2 separate regions of the Homo sapiens genome follow, and region 1 is linked to region 2. The links are contacts of gene promoters, found by promoter capture Hi-C in blood cells and fetal thymus (Javierre and others, 2016). All regions are on one chromosome and are shown on one strand. The core of a region is centred on a gene start or on the middle of the fragment in contact, and the rest is flanking DNA. Distances in the headings are between cores, read along the strand shown. Region 1 overlaps LOC105371059 (a long non-coding RNA gene). Region 2 holds the start of TIGD7 (tigger transposable element derived 7).

Region 1 (4,392 bases), core at 468-2,967, 73 kb before region 2:
AGGTTACAGTAAGCCAAGATCACACCACTGCACTCCAGCGTGCAAGATTCCCCATGTTAAGCGGAAAAAAAAAGCAGTGAACAAAGCTTCTTCCAGAAGCAGCCTCATTGGACTCTTCAGAGGTATCAGCACCAGTCAGGCAACACTGCCCAGCTCCCAGCTCCCAACCCCCAGCACCCTCGCCAAATCCAAGTCCCAGCTCTGCGGGGCCTCTCTTCCAAGCTTCCAAGGTCTGGTAAACCCAACCCTTTCTCTATCCAGACCCCATGTGTGGTAGCTGTTTCCTACAGTTACTATCTCTGTCACTGCAGTTTTCCCTTTACACTTTTTTTTTCAATTCTACCACACCCACTTTACAAATTCTTTACATTAAGTCCCCTCTTTGAAACATCAAGAATGGTTTCTGTTTTCCTGACTGGACTTTATTATCACATGTGATGCTAAGAGTTTGGATTTTATGATAAGTATAATGGGAAGCCACTGAATAATTAGGCAGGGAAAGACACAATTCTCTTATTCTGGCTGCTGTGTGGAGAATAGGTCAGAAGAGCTAAAAGTGGTAGCAAGGGGCAGGGCGCGGTGGCTCACGCCTGTAATCCCAGCACTTGGGGAGGCTGAGGCGGGCGGATCATGAGGTCAGGAGATCGATACCACCCTGGCTAACAGGGTGAAACCTGTCTCTACTAAAAATACAAAAAGTTAGCTGGGCATGGTGGTGGGTGCCTGTAGTCCCAGCTACTCGGGAGGCTGAGGCAGGAGAATGGCGTGAACCCGGGAGGCAGAGCTTGCGGTGAGCCGAGATCAGGTCACTATACTCCAGCCTGGGCAAAAGAGTGAGACTCCATCTCAAAAAAAAAAAAAAAAAAAGTGCTAGCAAAGAGACCAGGTAAGACTTTCTTAGCTGTGAGGTCTAGAAACTCAGTTGTCTAGTCTAGTGATGGCAGTGGATACAGAAAAAAGTGGATGGGTTTTGTACATTTTGGGCGCATAGTCAACATAATGTAGCGGTGATAGATTAGTTATGGAGGTGAAGGAGAGAGTTCTCATCTATGTCTATTACTAGGGATTTCCTATTATTATCTGGGTCAATGGGTGAAACTCAAATAAGTGGAGGTCAGAGAGGGAAAAGTAACTCACAGAAAGAAAGGAGAGATACAACCCCACATGGAAAGCAGGCCCTCTAAGTGGTATCTTTGAGAGGGAGAGTAGATTATCATCTCTCTTCTAGAAATGGAAATACTTCTTAGAGGGAGGAAGGATGGGCACACAACAGTCTTTGGCTCAATCCACAGTAAAGACAGAATTATAATCCAGGTTTCCCAGGGTGCAGAGGGCTCTCTTCTTACTAAGTCTTTTATGTAACTCTTCTAGGAGGGAATGTTTACTACCACTTAGCTTTTGGGCTGGGTCTTGGGGGCTAGGAGTCCAGCCAGGTTGGCTCCTCAATGTCCTCTGGTCCATTTCTTCATGGAGGGGACAGGGCTTTGGCACATGGCTGCTGCTCTCCTTGTGACGTTCATCTGGAGACACTTCAACTTGCTGTGACACAGCTCTGGATGTGCAAATAACCCAGCTCCTCAGGCTGCACAGCTATTGTTTTGGGCACCTTGCATTATCAGTACCAGGTTAGGTATTTTCACTAAACTGCTGTTTATCAAGGATGGTGAGGAAGGTCTTTGTTTCTTCAGCACCCTAGTGCATACCTTCCACCAGGAGGGTACACTCAGAATGACAGTTCAGGGCTGTTTCTCTCAGTCAATTGACCACAGGCCCTCACTATTTGACTTTCCATTGCTTAACAAGCCCAATACAACACTAACCACTTGAGAATGTATTGGAAGTATGTTGTACAAAAGGCAAGACCCCAAGTCTACAGATTTCCTCTTATGTCTAATACTACCCTCCAGGATTGGTGCAGCCCTTCAGAGGCCCATTAAAAAACCAGGTCATTCCCTGGTAAGTTACACAGTGGGCTCTCTACACTGTTTCCATACCTCCTTCCCTCACTGAAACATTTTAACTAGTTGATATAATTTTTTTTCAATTGACACTATTCCTTTTTTCCAAAGATTCCTAACCAGTCCCTGTAGACTGGATCAATCGTCTCGCTACAACCCAGAGAAGTTGGGCAGAGCCTACTGGCCGTCACTGGTCCATAGTTCTACCATGGCTCCTCTCAGCTGACAGTGGCTGTCAGACGGTCAGAGCCAAACAAGAGCTGGGCGCCTCATTCACCTTTCCTCTGGCTACCTCTCTGCTGCTTCTCTTGTGAGTTCAGTCTGGAAACAGCCCAGAACTTCTGGGATCCTGGCACAAAAACGCACCCATTTCATAGCTGACTTCATCACAGGCAGAATCCTTGGCTCCTCACAGTCCTGGAAATAGACTCAACCGTAACTTGGTTTCTGGGTAGAGACCAAGAGAAGGACTGAGTGTTCTTCACTTACAGAGAATATGGGACTCTAGCAAGCGGCCCCACCATTCCCCATCGTAGTCAGCCTGAAAGCTGTGAACTTGGTGTTGACCTGTGTGGCATCTGGAGGAAGCTGTACTCCTGCAGCAGCTCAGCCACTACCCTTACAGTTGGCCATTCCAGGAGCAAGTCTGGAGTTTTTCATAGATTTAAGATTTATGGAGATTTGTAAGTAAAGTCTTGGTTTCCTGGTAGCCCCAATTCATACCTGCCCTCCTAGGTTAGGTGACTTGCACAGTGACTAAATGAAAGAGCTGGACATTTTCCCCTCATCTGTAATTTCTCTTAAATGAGGATTCCTAGATGCCACCACCAGAGATTCTGATTTGTCAGTCTGGGGCAGTTTTCCAAGTGCTTTTGTGTGCTTATGCCTGTTTGAGAGACATGAACCCCTTTCTTAGAGAGAGAGGACACTGGGGCCTAAGGTCAGTATCAGACAACGAATGAACCTCCAGCTCTGCAGATTCCAACAAAAAGTGTTAGTATGGTGCTGTAGTGAGGGCTTTGGAGTGAGACAAACCGGGTTTAACTTCTAATTTTGTTATAACCTATTGCTGTGTGTCTTTGGACACTTACGTAAGTAGGTAAGTAAGTACACAAGTACTTAACCTTTCTGAGCCCAGCCTCTTCATCTTACAGTCAGTGATGACAATGTCTACCTCTCAGAGGGGTTTAAAGGGTTAAGTGCTTTCATGTGTGGAAGCCATTTACATGTAACCAACCACACTGTAAAAGCTTCACATATGCCAGCTATTACTGGATATGTCTTGAGTTTTACCAGGCAGGATAAACAAGCGCCAAACAACCTCCAACAGGCATTACTGATGGCTACATCTACAACTCTCCCAACACCATATTCTTCAGTCGGTCAGTGAGTTCATTTGTTCATTAAATACAGTATGATAAAACTGATATTTATTTTGCCCAGGTATGTTTATAATGTGCCAGGCAAAGAGAGATATGGAAGACCTGGTCACTGCCCCAAGGGAGAGGAGCTAGATTTTGAACATAGGTCAAATCAATTCCAAAACCTTTCATTACTTCCATTTCACTTTCACTCAGTTTTTACAGTCTAAAGGTAGAAAAGGCAAAAAGAGACCCATTTAAAAAGAAAGAAAGAGCTAGGCGTGATGGCTCAAGCCTGTAATCCCACCACTTTGGGAGGCCAAGGCAGGCAGATCACCTGGGGTCAGGAGTTTGAGACCAGCCTGGTCAACATGGTGAAAACCCATCTCTACTAAAAATACAAAAATTAGCTGGGCCTGTTGGCGTGCGCCTGTAATTCCAGCTACTCAGGAGGCTGAGGCCGGAGAATCGCTTGAATCTGGGAGGCGGAGGTTGCAGTGAGCTGAGATCACGCCACTGCACTCCAGCCTGGGGACAGAGTAAGAGTCTGTCAGAAAGAAAGGAAAGAAAGGAAAGGAAGGGAGGAAGGAAGGGAGGGAGAAAGGAAGGGAGGAAGGGAGGAAGGAAAGGAGGGAGGGGAAGGAAGGAAAGAAAGAAGGAAGGAAGGAGGAAAGGGAAGGAGGGAGGGGGAGGAAGGAAGGAAAGGAAAGGGAGAGAGGGAAGGAAGGAAAAAAGAAAAGAAAAGAAAAGGGGAGAGAGAAGGAAGGAAGGAAGGAATCAGAGATCTCACTTGTTACCCAGCCCCGCTTACCTACCATCAAGGTAGTGTCTGTTGGAATCCCCAGTTGGTTTTTTTTTCTTTTACAAGTCAAGACTTTAGACCCAGGCACAGGAGATGGTGACATAAATTGACATGTCAGAAGTAGAATTCATACCCCCAAGCACCAGCAGAGAGCTCTGTGGGGCTGGCCAAGCACACAGTGGGGCTTCACCCGTTCGTTCACACCTTCCCTTTACCCTCTCACCTTGGCTCTTAGCCTTTGTTGAATATCTGGGCTCTGGACCATTTCAGA
Region 2 (4,070 bases), core at 275-2,774:
AGTTATTTAAAACTTATGAACTGTTTATTTCTGGAGTTTTCCATTTAATATTTTTTGGATGGCAGTTGACAGCGGGTAAGTGAAACCCAGATACAGTGGGGGGAGGGGGTACTACAGAAAGTAAAAAAGTAGCCTATTTTCAGACAATGTCTCCCAAGTAAGCAACAAGATGCTCATCATTCTTTGCAACACACATAAAGGGTGCCATGCAGATGATTTATACGAATTTTGTTTTTTTTTTTGAGATGGAGTCTCGCCCTGTCACCCAGGCTGGAGTGCAGTGGCGTGATCTCAGCTCACTGCAACTTCCACCTCCCCGGTTGAAGCCATTCTCCTGCCTCAGCCTCCCGACTAGCTGGGATTACAGGCGCGTGCCACCATGCCCGGCTAATTTTTGTGTTTTTAGTAGAGACAGGGTTTCACCATCTTGGCCAGGGTGGTCTCGATCTCCTGACCTCGTGATCCACCCATCTTGGCCTCCCAAAGTGCTGGGATTACAGGCGTCAAACACCGCGCCAGGCCTATATGAATTTTTAACTGTGCTTACTTGATCTGGAGAAAATTACAGCTGACCTCTGTTTACAAAATATCAACTTGTAAAAAAGGATATTTTATTTACAAAATATCAAGTCGTATTTTCTTTCTGTCGCTGATGTTTATGAAATATCAACTCCAACAGGAGTTGGTGACGATGAAAGTGAAACTTTCTGCTGACTTTGTATTTCTCCAAAGGTCATTTAGACTTCTAAGGGGGGCTGAGGAGAGCCGTGAGCCTCACTTTTCCTGAAGTGAGCCAGCAGAAACGGCACCGAAATTCTGCCCAGGATGCCACCGGTATTCAAAGAAGTGGCCAGCTCCTTGCTGCCCACCCCGGTTCCAGAAGCAAAGAGACACTTCCTATGTTTTTGCATCAGTAGAAGCTGCTAGCCCTGAGGCTCAACCGACCGCATGACATCGGCCGGACACGGAAATGCCGGCGGAGGCGGGAAAGAGTCTGCGGGCGCAGCTGCAGGCACTGCTGCCCGCCAGCACTCGGATTCGCCACAGCCTGTGTCTGCGACAGGCGTGCCCGTGGGCACTGGGCAAGCGGGCAGTGTCCCAGCGAGCTTCAGCCGCGCCTCTGGGATACAGCTGCGAAAAGCGGGGAGAGAATGGTTTCTCGTGCCCGACGGTGGCCCCGCCTCAGGCTCCAGCCGCGCGGCCCGGAAGCGCCGCGGCCACCGCCTACGGAAAATGGCTGCCTCCCTGCGGCCGCCGCCGCTCCAGCGGCTCCAGGGTCGAAGCCATAGGGGAAGCCGCTTCTCGGTTACCTCGGCCAGCTTGGCTTCCGTGGAGGCCGCTCCTCGCTTTCTGAGGCTCAAACGCAAGCCACCGCCCGAAAGGCCGCCGATCTGAGGAGCGCAACCGCCAGCCCACCGCTGGCCTACCGCAGCCCTGTCCAGGTACAGAGCCAGAGCGCCGGCCGGAAGTGGAAGTGACGCTTTCCGAGGGTGGCGCAGGCCCGCCCTCTGGCTAAGGCGCCTGAGCCCGGCCTACTTCCTCGCCAGAGAAACTGCTGTCTTCCCCGGCGGTAGGGAAGGGTTAATGCCACCGAGTATCCAGACCCGCTGAAGCCTAGAGGGCCTTGTACCGGCTCACCGCGTGGCTGTCGCTGTCTCGTGTCCCCAGTGGGGGAGGCGTCGCACTGCCGCGTCTGTTCTGCGTGGCTGTCGGGCGGCGTTTGGTCCCGGGAGCCTCGCCGGGTAAGGGTCGCCTCCCAGCTGCGCGCGCCGCGTTCTCGGGCTTCCCGCGGCCCGGCCGGCCGTGCTCGAGCTGTTGCTGGGCTCGTCGCCGCCTCCTCGAGGAAGAGGCATTTTGTCCGGGTCGGGCCACTCGCTAGGTCAGAAACAGCGGCCCCCCGAGGGTTTTGTACCGTTTTCTAGGTCTCGTGACGCATTCCCCACAACTATTTTTTCTTGAGGTAGGTTTGAACCTGTGAAATAGGTTCTTTTTCTATCTCTCCTTGACAGAGAAACGGAGACCTAAGAAGTGACTTGCTCAGGGTCACATAGCTCAGCAGTGGCGGCCGCTAATCGGAAATAGCTCTCCTGTTGTGGTATCCTCTGCGTTTTCCACTCCAGTATTCTTCCCTGGAAAATGGGAACCTTGTTTTCATCTTATATCTCATGCAGCGCCTAACATAGTCACCTGGTAAGATAGGCATTCCACACATATTTACTGAATCATAGTTATAAGAATCTGAGTGTTTTGGGTGTTCAGTGATCTCTGAATTAATCCGTTTTTGTAATGTCAGTCTGTACCAGTTGAGGGATTATTTAATAAGTCCAGTATGAGTGGTTTCGGAATTACCAGTTTTTGTAACGTCAGCTTATACCAGTCAAGGGACTATTTATTAAGTCAGCTATGTGTAGCCAATATTGCAGAGTTGAGTAAGAAGTCTTTGTCCTTAAGCAATCTCTTGAAAGGACTGAGCAATTTCGTGAATATCAGTAACACAAGGGTAAGAATAGGACATAAACTGAATGCTGTGAGAACTCCAAGAAAATCCAAGTTGATTTGGGGTTGGGGGAAATTATAAAAGACCTTGAGGGATTTTGTCCACAGCAGGGAATGGAGACACTTTCCAGGCAGAGGGAAGGGTAGGAGTAAAGGCTTTAAAAGCTGGAAACATTAGACTGTGAGATCTTAGGTACGTTTTTACTGAGTTGGGCTGCATTTAGAGGAAGAGTTTTAAAAGTTAGAAAACGAGTTTATGTGGCACTTATACTGGAGTCCTTTGAATGGGAATGAAAAGAGTGCATTTAAGAAAGTAAATCCTGGCCGGGCGCGGTGGCTTACGCCTGTAATCCCAGCACTTTGGGAGGCCGAGGCGGGCGGATCATGAGGTCAGGAGATCGAGACCATCCTGGCTAACATGGTGAAACCCCGTCTCTACTAAAAAATACAAAAAAAAATTAGCCGGGCGTGGTGGTGGGCGCCTGTAGTCCCAGCTACTCGGGAGGCTGAGGCAGGAGAATGGCGTGAACCCGGGAGGCGGAGCTTGCAGTGAGCCGAGTTCACGCCACTGCATTCCAGCCTGGGCGACAGAGCGAGACTCCGTCGCAAAAAACAAAACAAAACAATACAAAAAAGTAAATCCTGGAGCACCATTTGAGCGTTTTGGACTGAGCTGCTTTCTATGGCAGTTCATCTAAGGTAAGTTTAAGGTGAGAATGAAGATGAGAGGCCATTACCAGGCCATTATGCTATTTTTGCTTTTGGATGGGATGGTATGTAACTCCTCTTAGGCATAGATCTTGATCCTTTTTAAGTGAGAGAGAAAGATAAACAGATTTAATAATGAGCATCTGCCTAAGTCACTTGAATTTGTGTCTAAGTAGGTTCATTTCCTTAAAATCTCAGCCAGGTTGGGACTTCATTTCTTCAGCAGTAAATATTCTCAGTCTATCAGAACCAGTGGACAGTAGCGCCATCAGCATTAAGATTCTCATCACCTGGCCCAATGCTGAATATATAATTAGAATTTATTAAGTTGAATAAGTGAAGTTCTGCTAGCAGTGCTAAGCAGTGCCCTTGGATATCATTGACAGGCCTGATTCATAACACAGGAAGTTGGTTAAAGGGAAAAGGGATTCATGGGAAAAAGAGGCAGCAAGGCACAAATTGTGAATAGTGAATAAGAGGCACTGGTGATTTTCATTGTGTGAGGTTTGCTGCCATAGTGGCTTATCCTTTGAAGCCCACAAACATTCCTTGAGCCTTTCCTTTTGGTTTCACCTCCCCTTGCTTGGGCACTGTTTTAGAAATGATGACTGTGGCTGGGCGCAGTGGCTTACACCTGTAATCCCAGCACTTTGGGAGGCCTAGGTGGGTGGATCACTTGAGGTCAGGAGTTCGAGACCAGCCTGGCCAACATGGCAAAACCTTGTCTGTACTAAAAATATAAAAATTAGCGGGGCATGGTGGTGCGTGCCTGTAATCCCAGCTACTTAGGAGGCTGAGGCACGAGAATGGCCTGAACCCTGGAGGCAGAGGTTGCAGTGAGCCGAGATTGTGTCACTGCACTCCAG

What was found. The method cuts DNA at HindIII sites, captures the fragments that hold promoters and counts their contacts. A CHiCAGO score of 5 or more calls a contact.
Region 1: a contact is called between a fragment that was not itself captured here and the fragment with the promoter of TIGD7 in region 2, in 1 of 17 cell types (erythroblasts). The highest score is 5.9, in erythroblasts.

Annotation. Positions count from the first base shown.
Region 1 is chr16:3,375,468-3,379,859 of GRCh38, reverse strand. The region is part of intron 1 of LOC105371059 (a long non-coding RNA gene); the gene reads right to left. Among named protein-coding and RNA genes, the nearest start is that of OR2C1, 22 kb to the right of the region's middle. The HindIII fragment of the contact is 2,986 bases long and covers 225-3,210 here.
Region 2 is chr16:3,302,884-3,306,953 of GRCh38, reverse strand. TIGD7 (tigger transposable element derived 7) reads left to right here and starts at 1,524. Exons shown (of 2, transcript NM_033208.4): 1 at 1,524-1,742. It overlaps ZNF75A (zinc finger protein 75A), which reads right to left and starts at 1,457. Exons shown (of 7, transcript NM_001302109.2): 1 at 1,311-1,457. RefSeq lists an enhancer at 1,434-1,963. The HindIII fragment of the contact is 19,814 bases long and covers 1-4,070 here.